3 separate regions of the Homo sapiens genome follow, and all the other regions are linked to region 1. Evidence: promoter capture Hi-C in 16 types of primary human blood cells and fetal thymus (Javierre and others, 2016). All regions are on one chromosome and are shown on one strand. Each heading gives the region's core, a stretch centred on a gene start or on the middle of the fragment in contact. The rest is flanking DNA. Distances are from core to core; before and after follow the strand shown. Region 1 holds the start of TLE5 (TLE family member 5, transcriptional modulator). Region 2 has its middle 3.6 kb from the start of ZNF77. Region 3 has its middle 2.2 kb from the start of S1PR4.

The links. Contacts are between HindIII fragments. The CHiCAGO score rates a contact against its expected background, and 5 or more counts as called.
Region 2: a contact is called between a fragment that was not itself captured here and the fragment with the promoter of TLE5 in region 1, in 3 of 17 cell types (naive CD8 T cells, total B cells and naive B cells). The highest score is 5.5, in naive CD8 T cells.
Region 3: a fragment that was not itself captured here is called in contact with the fragment with the promoter of TLE5 in region 1 in 6 of 17 cell types (endothelial precursors, naive CD4 T cells, naive CD8 T cells and 3 more); the score reaches 6.3 in endothelial precursors.

Annotation. Positions count from the first base shown.
Region 1 is chr19:3,061,245-3,064,098 of GRCh38, forward strand. TLE5 (TLE family member 5, transcriptional modulator) reads right to left here and starts at 1,251. Exons shown (of 7, transcript NM_001130.6): 1 at 930-1,251; 2 at 1-13. The coding sequence starts at 956. RefSeq lists silencers at 65-334, 1,257-1,466. The HindIII fragment of the contact is 8,766 bases long and covers 1-2,854 here.
Region 2 is chr19:2,947,041-2,950,052 of GRCh38, forward strand. No RefSeq gene overlaps it. Among named protein-coding and RNA genes, the nearest start is that of ZNF77, 3.6 kb to the left of the region's middle. The HindIII fragment of the contact is 2,883 bases long and covers 321-3,012 here.
Region 3 is chr19:3,175,155-3,177,921 of GRCh38, forward strand. No RefSeq gene overlaps it. Among named protein-coding and RNA genes, the nearest start is that of S1PR4, 2.2 kb to the right of the region's middle. RefSeq lists an enhancer at 1,597-2,479. The HindIII fragment of the contact is 1,187 bases long and covers 925-2,111 here.

The sequences.
Region 1 (2,854 bases), core at 1-2,500:
GGTGCGAGGAGCCCTGTAGGGATGGGGCGGCCCGGGTCAGGCCCAGGCGTGGGCTGGACCCCCCTCAAGGGCCGGCTAGGAGGGAGCGGCCGCGCAGCTGCGGCGCCCCCCCTCCTGCCCCACTTCCTGGGCCCGTGTTTACGGCCCCTGGCGCGACCCCACCCGCGCTTCCTGCCCCCCGCCTCTCCCGGGGGAAGCCGAGCGGGTGGGTGCGCCCGGAGCCGCCCCGTCCCCCGCCACCCCCAGGCAGTGGGGGTGCGTTTTAAGGCCCGCCCTAGATGGGGGGCAGGGTGCGCCCTCTACCGCCCTCCAAAGCGCCGGGAGGGAGTGCACATCCGAGGGGGGTAGAAACGCGCCCTAGGGAGCCCCCTCCCCAAGTTGGGGGGCAGCGATTCCTCCCTGCAAAGTCCTCTTGGGGGAGGGGTCTCTCTCTCGGTGCTCGAAATCTTCCGGGGGGGCCCAACCCCAGATTCCCAGCGCCCTTCCTCGGGGACACGCTCTTCCGGGAGGGGTGCGCCTCGGATCACCCCCCCCACCACAGGCCCCCAAAGGATCCCCGGGCTAGAGGTGCCTCGCGGGGCTTCCGGAGCGCCCCAGGCCCGAGGCCAAGGCCGTCCGAGGCCCTGACTGTCCCGGCGGGTTGGGGGGGGGGGGCGCCAAGCCGGGAGCTGCGGCGGGGGGGCTCGGGGCCCGGAAGCTGGGGTGGATCGGGAACTGGAGGGGGGGTGTCCGGGGGCCGGCGGCAGGAGGGGAGGGGGGTCGCGCCGGGCTGGGAGCTGGAGAGGGAAGACAGGGCCGGGGAGTTGGGGGGGGCGCCGGGCCGGAGGCACCGGGCCTGGGGGTTGGGGGGCGCGGGGCCGGGAGCCGGGGGTCGGGGGCGTAGGGCCCGGATCCGGGGTGGGGGCGCCGGCCGGACGGGCCCCGCTTACCGAATGCCTGCTTTGTGGAAACATCATGTCAATCGCGGCGGGGGGCGCGGGCTGCGCCCCGGCTGTGCGCCCCGGCTCGGGCTGCTGGGGGCGCCGGGCGGCCGCGCCTTTGTCCCGGCGCCGATCGGCAGCTCCCGGGGCCGCCGCCGCCTCCCGCGCCCGGCCTCGCCCGCTTCCTGCGCCCCCTCCCCGCGCGCCCGGCCCCGGCGCGCCCCGGGCCCCGCTTCCTGCGCGCCCGGCGCCCCTCCCCGCCCCTCCCCGCCGCCCGCCTCCCCGCTCCCCGGCCCCACCGCTATTGTCTAATGGCGGCGACGCCGGCAGTGGCCGCGGCTCGGCTGCTGCGGAGGCTTCGGCTCCACCTGCCGCCGCCCGTGCCCCGTGCGCGCCGCCGAGGGGGGGGACGCGCGCGCCCGGGGAGGCCTGCGGATCCCCACGCCGGCCCGCCTCCCCGTGGCCCGCCCGCCGCGGTGACCTTGGGCCCGGCCCGCCCCCGCCCCGGGCAGCGGCCCCCGCCACCCTCTCCTACCCGGCAGCCGGCCGGGCCTCGGTTTCCCCATCTGTCAAAGAAAAGGGACCCGGCTGCCCGCGTCGAAGCCGCCGGCCCTGCTGTGGCACGACCTGGACGCGTGCCACGGACGTGCTCTGTGACCTTGGCTCTGGCTGGGCGGTGGTTCTTGCTGAGCCTTAGTTTCCTTTTCTGCAGAAAGGCAGCGGTAATGCCGCCTTCCTGAGGGAAGCCATTCTTGTGACACATTTATAGAACGCCTACTGTGTGCCAGGCCCCGCTGCTCCAGGGCCCTGGGGTGGGGCGGGGCGGGGGTGGGTCCCTGCCCTGGTGGTGGTGCCTGGAGACAGACAGAGACAAATTCACAAGCTGAATTCCTGGCAGGTCAGATGGTGGGGACAGTTCTGCAGAAAAACCAGCCGGGAGAATGGCAGGGTAGGAAGGTGCAAAGTTAAAGAGGTGGGAGGGAGGATCAGAGACGGCTTCCTCCACCCCTAAAGCGACCTGAAGAAGGAGGGAGAACAGGGGGATGGGGTACAGAGGTAGTCAGAGGCAGGACCAACAGGTGCAAAGGCCCTGGGGCAGGACTGTGCCTGGCAGCAGAGTGCCCGGGGGGAGGTCAGGAAGGCCGGAGGGAGGCAGGGCCGGGGGCTTCGTGCTTTTGTCCAGGGCCCCCCCACCCCACAGCAGGGCTTGTGCTTGGGTTAATATTTACTGCTGCATTTTGAGATTTCTAATCATTTTTGAACAAGGGGCCTTTGAGTTTTCTTTTGCACTGGGCCCTGCTAACTCTGTAGCTGGTGAAGCAGGCCAGTCCAGCAAGGACTTGTGGGTCTTGGGGAGGACTTGGGATTTTGCTCTGAGTGAGGTAGGAGCCCTGGAAGGCTGTGGGAGGAGGAGGGACGGGACCTGGTGGTTGGTTGGTTTGTTTTTTGAGATGGAGTTTCGCTCTTGTTGCCCAGGCTGGAGTACAATGGCACAATCTCAGCTCACCGCATCCTGGGTTCAAGTGATTCCTGCCTCAGCCTCCCGAGTAGCTGGATTACAGGCACGTGCCACCACGCCCCGCTAATTTTGGAGTTTTAGTAGAGACGGGGTTTCTCCATGTTGGTCAGGCTGGTCTTGAACTCCCGACCTCAGATGATCTGCCCGCCTCGGCCTCCCAAAGTGCTGGGATTACAGGCGTGAGCCACCGTGATCAGCTGTTTGTTTGTTTTTGAGATGGAGTCTCACTCTGTTGCCCAGGCTGGAGTGCAGTGATGTGATGTTGGCTGACTGCAGCCTCTGCCACCCGGATTCAAGTGATTCTCCTGCCTCTGCCTCCTGAGTAGCTGGGATTACAGGTGCGCATCACCACGCCTGGCTAATTTTTGTATATTTAGTAGAGACAGGTTTCACCATATTGGCCAGACTGGTCTTG
Region 2 (3,012 bases), core at 512-3,011, 110 kb before region 1:
GTACACATTGCATTACAATTGTTTTTGTGGCTCAATGAAAAAAATAAATCCTCCACCTCTCTTCATCTTAATAGGTGACTTCCTTACTCCTTACAGATGTAAGATGATGTAAGCTGATGTAACAAGGTCTCTCTAAATAGACAGTGGACTTGTTTCCAATCTTTTGCTACTCAAAGCTTGTCTTATGTTGCACCACCATGCCTGGCAGATTTTTGTATTTTTTGGTAGAGATGGGGTTTCACCATGCTGGCCAAGTTGGTCTGGAACTCCTGACCTCAAGTGATCCGCTTGCCTCAGCCTTCATCAATGGATATTAATGAAGCTTAGGATACTCACATTGTGTCAAAGATAAGAGGCAAGGAAACTACAAAGAAATTGGAAGTGATAGGAAACAGTGGAATAACTGTCAGAGAGGAAGCAGTGGGAACAAAAGACAGGAAAGAAAAACATGCCTATTATCAGAGTCCCTGAAGAAGTAAACAGTAGCACAGCTTTTCACCTTACATCATTAAGAAACACATAAATAGGCCGGGCGCGGTGGCTCACGCCTGTAATCCCAGCACTTTGGGATGCCAAGGTGGGCAGATCACCTGAGGTCCAAAGTCCGAGACCACCCTGACAAACATGGAGAAACCCCATCTCTACTAAAAATACAAAAATGAGCTGGACATGGTGGCAAATGCCTGGAACCCCCGCTAATCGGGAGGCTGAGGCAGGAGAATCACTTGAACCCAGGAGGTGGAGGTTGCAGTGAGCCGAGATCATGCCACTGCACTCCAGCCTGGGCAACAAGATCAAAACTCTGTCTCAAAAAAAAAAAAAAAAAAAGGAAAAGAAACACATAAATACTATAATAAATGTAGCAACGTACCTTGCAGAAGATCCAAAGGTTGCTTGTGGAATTGGGCAAGGGAATCTAAATTTCCAGAGTTAGTATGCAGTGGTGGAGAGAGGGTTGTCGGAAATCTAATGTTAAGTTTTAAAGCAGAGGAAACAGTGTGACTTGGTATTTGAGGTGTGTGCGCGCATTTTCTGTTTTCCTACCAGACTCTTCAGTTATGTGCAATTTCTTCTGTTCACTTAGTGTTTCTTAGGGTTGAAACTGAACATAAACAAATATGAAATTCGTGTTATACTCACATTACTCAACATATCAGGTAATTTGTGAAGACAGAGATGTTTCCTGATCAATTGTTCTAGCCGACTGACAGCCAATATCTACATAGAATTATTTCAAAGTCGCAGGGTGCGGTGGCTCACGTCTGTAATCCCAGCACTTTGGGAGGCCGAGTTGGGCGGATCACAAGGTCAGGAGATCAAGACCATCCTGGCTAACATGGTGAAACCCCGTCTCTACTAAAAATACAAAAAATCAGCTGGGCGTGGTGGCGAGTGCCTGTAGTCCCAGCTACTCGGAAGGCTGAGGCAGGAGAATGGCGTGAACCCAGGAGGCGGAGCTTGCGTTGAGCTGAGATCACGCCATTGTACTCTATCCTGGGCAACAGAGCAAAACTCTGTCTCAAAAAAAAAAAAAAAAAAAGAATTATTTCAAAGTCAATTGAGTGGCTGGGGGCAGTGGCTTACGCCTGTAATCCCAGCACTTTGGGAGGCCGAGGCAGGCGGGTCACGAGGTCAGGAGTTCAAGAGTAGCCTGGCCAAGATGGTGAAACCCCATCTCTACTAAAAATACAAAAATTAGCTGGGTGTGGTGGCGGGCACCTGTAGTCCCAGCTACTCGGGAGGGTGAGGCAGGAGAATCACTTGAACCCGGGAGGTGGAGGCTGCAGTGAGCCGAGATCACACCACTGCACTCCAGCCTGGGCGACAGCTCGAGACTCCGTCTCAAAAAAAAAAAAAAAAGTAAATTGAGGACACTGTAACACTCTGCTCTTAAACACCTCCCAAATGCTATTTTAGAGAAAAATCTGTATTTTTATCTAAAAGTCCACACTTCATATTCGCACTTTAGATAGTTAACAATCATTCCTTTATACCTAGCCCATAATCGTATTTCCTTCAATTATACCCCAAATGGTCTTTACAGCTGGTCCTCCGAAGATCCAACCCCAAACCAGGTATTGCATCTTCTTTTATTTTATAGTATTATATGGTCATGTTGAATTTTTCTTTTGAGGTGTAGTCTATGAATTTTTGTGTATGTATAGCGTTAACGGGTGAATTGCGTCCCCACAAATCCGTAAGGTGAAGGCCTAACCCACAGTACCTCAGAAGGTATTTGAAGATAGGCCTTTAAAGAGGCAATTCGATTAAAATGAGATTAAGGTGGGCTCAAATCCAAAAGACTGGCGTGCTATTCATTGCAGGGTGTTGAGCAGCACCCTAGACCTCCTCATCCACTGGATGCCAGTCGCCCCAACCCCATCCCCGGTTGTGACAACCAAGTCTGCAGACATTGTCCAGTGTCCCCTGGGCGTAAAATTTCTCCTCCCCTCTTTGATAATCACTGCTTTAGACTCTATTTGGTCTTAGAGTCTTTTCTCTGAAGTCCATCATTTTATCCGCCGTAACCCTGCTGTCTTCACTTAAGGGGTCCAAGACGTTTACAGGAGGGTGATAATGGTGATGATGAGCTGCCAATAATAATCCACACACAGCACTATTTGACAAATGCAGGTAATGTTATGTATTTTACAGACCTGGAAACTGAGGCACTTAGGGGCTTGGCAACTTGCCTAATATCACCCGAGAGCTGATTAAGGCTTGGGGCCAGGACTGGGACCCCAGGATGAAGCCCAGCTGAGCAGAAAACCTCTGTGCACAGGATGCAGCAATCAAGATAATAAAAATCAACTCCGACTGAGAAAGTATCTGCCTACACATTCATCAGGCTGGGAGGACAGACCCAGATGGTATCAGTTGGAAAATTAACAGAAAACAGTATTTTTGCCAAGGACACCTTTTTCTGAGCCATCAATGTCTTCTAGCTCGCTAAATGCCTTCCTTGCCCATTACAATCATACACAGTGATTGACATTTTATCAGTAAGAATAA
Region 3 (2,767 bases), core at 268-2,767, 110 kb after region 1:
ATGGGACGCCTGTGCCCTCATGGGACGCCTGTGTTCTCATGGGACGCCTGTGCCCCTCATGGGACACCTGTGTTCTCATGGGACGCCTGTGCCCTCATGGGACGCCTGTGTTCTCATGGGACGCCTGTGCCCCTCATGGGACACCTGTGTTCTCACGGGACGCCTGTGCCCTCATGGGACGCCTGTGTTCTCATGGGACGCCTGTGCCCCTCATGGGACGCCTGTGTTCTCATGGGACGCCTGTGCCCCTCATGGGACACCTGTGCCCTCATGGGACGCCTGTGCCCTCATGGGACGCCTGCGTTCTCATGGGACGCCTGCATTCTCATGGGACGCCTGTGCCCTCATGGGACACCTGTGTTCTCATGGGACACCTGTGTTCTCATGGGATGCCTGTGCCCTCATGGGATGCCTGTACCCCTCATGGGACGCCTGTGTTCTCATGGGATGCCTGTACCCTCATGGGACGCCTGTACCCCTCATGGGACATCTGTGCTCTCATGGGATGCCTGTGCCCCTCATGGGATGCCTGTGCCCTCATGGGACGCCTGCATTCTCATGGGACACCTGTGCCCTCATGGGATGCCTGTACCCTCATGGGACGCCTGTGCCCCTCATGGGATGCCTGTGTTCTCATGGGATGCCTGTGCCCCTCATGGGACGCCTGCATTCTCATGGGACACCTGTGCCCTCATGGGATGCCTGTACCCTTCATGGGACGCCTGTGTGTGGTTGCCATGATTACTACCTGAGACTGTCACTACGACAGTTACTATTGTTACTACTTGAGACCATCATTACAAGACTGAACGAAGGGACGAATGTAGAAATGAAAACTTAAGACAGAAGAAACTGTTTTAAAGGAAGGGACCAGGGGAAGAAAAAGAGAGCTCCCTGCTTCTAGTGAGCAAAGGCAGCCCCCCAAGCTTCTACAGCCCTTCGTACTTATTGGGTAGAAAGCAGGGGGAGGAAACGATTGGCCAGCTGCTTGATTGTTCACACGTTCACGTTATTGCTAACAGGTTTCAGATTTGCCTACTTGCAAGAAACACTTGTGCCTGGGGCGTGACTGCCCTCAGCATTCCTTCTGGGCGGCAGACGCAGTTTGTCAGTTTGCCAACAGCCTGCTTTCATGAGAACAGTTTGCTGTTTACTCACGTAGCCTCCAGTGGTATACTGAGTTGATCACAACCCTCATTCTTTCGGCCTTCAACACCTGAGCCCTCACGGGACATCTGTGCCCCTCATGGGACACCTGTGTCCTCGCAGTACACTTGTGACCCTTCCAGGACACCTTACTGGTAGAATTAGTGTAGCTGCCCCCACCCTGAGGCCAAGGACACCATTGTCTCAGGAAGGCTGAAGACCACAGGCTCCTGGGGGGACAGAGGGCAGGTGGGGCCCCTCAGGACCCTCCTTGGTGGTAAGTGGGCCTGGCCTGGGGGTGATTGCAGGCGGGAGGAGGCTCCCAGCAGGGACTTATCCTGGGTCCTACTCACACTTCTGGGGCCTGCATTATTTCCCAAATCACCCCACACCCCAAGGCCTTCTGGATGGGGACGAGTGGGGGGTCACAGACACTGGGGGAGCTGGAGAGCAGAGACCTCACACTCCATCCGTGACAGATGATGTCCAAGCCCCTACATGCCCCAGACCCCAGGGCAAGGCTGAGCCTCCCTCCTCAGACCCCAGGGCAAGGCTGAGCATCCCCACTCAGACCTCAGGGTAGGGCCTCGCCTCCTCCCTTGGACCCCAGGACAGGGCCTCACCTCTCCCCTCAGACCCCAAGGCAGGGCCTCGCCTCCCCCCTCAGACTCAGGACAGGGCCATGCCTCCCCACTCAGACCCCAAGGCAAGGCCAACCCTCACCCCTAGACCCCAGGCAGGTTCAAGCCTCCCCGCTCAAACCTCAGGGCAGGGCATACCTCCCTCCTCAGACCCAGGGCAGGGTGTGTCTCCCCTCTCAGACCACAGCACAGGGCCTCGCATCCCTCCTCAGACCCCAGGACAAGGCTGAGCCTCTCCGCTCAGACCCCAGGGTAAGGTCATGCCTCCCCTCTCAGAACCTAGGGCAAGGCCAACCCTCCCCCCTCAGACCCCAGGCAGGTCCAAGCTTCCCCCTCAGACGCCAGGGCAGAGCCTGCCTCCCTCCTCAGACGCCAGAGCAGGGTGTGTCTCCCACTTAGACCCACAGCCACCTCACCTCAGGCTGAGTCACCGTGAGCCGTTGTCAGCAGGGCCATGGGGATGGGGTGAGCAAGTCCCTACTTTTCCTATGCACCTCAATCCCAGTGGGGGGCTGCCCCAGGGGGCCAGCAGCTCTGCTCCCAGCAGGGTGAGCTCAGGGGCAGGAGAGGCAACCATGAATCCCAAAATGGGCGCCTGGCCCCGAGACCCTACCAGCTTGTCCCTGGGGGTCTCTCTCCCTGGACCTGTGTGTCCTCCCATGGGCAGAAAGTTGGCCTCAGGCCGCCTTTGTGGGCCTCAGTTTTCCCTTCTGTAACGCATCAGGCTCTCTGGGCCTCAGTTTCCCCTTCTGCAACGCATCGGGCTCTCTGGGCCTCAGTTTCCCCTTCTGCAACGCATCGGGCTCTCTGGGCCTCAGTTTCCCCTTCTGCAACGCATCGGGCTCTCTGGGCCTCAGTTTCCCCTTCTGCAACGCCTCGGGCTCTCTGGGCCTCAGTTTCCCCTTCTGCAACGCATCGGGCTCTCTGGGCCTCAGTTTCCCCTTCTGCAACGCCTCGGGCTCTCTGGGCCTCAGTTTCCC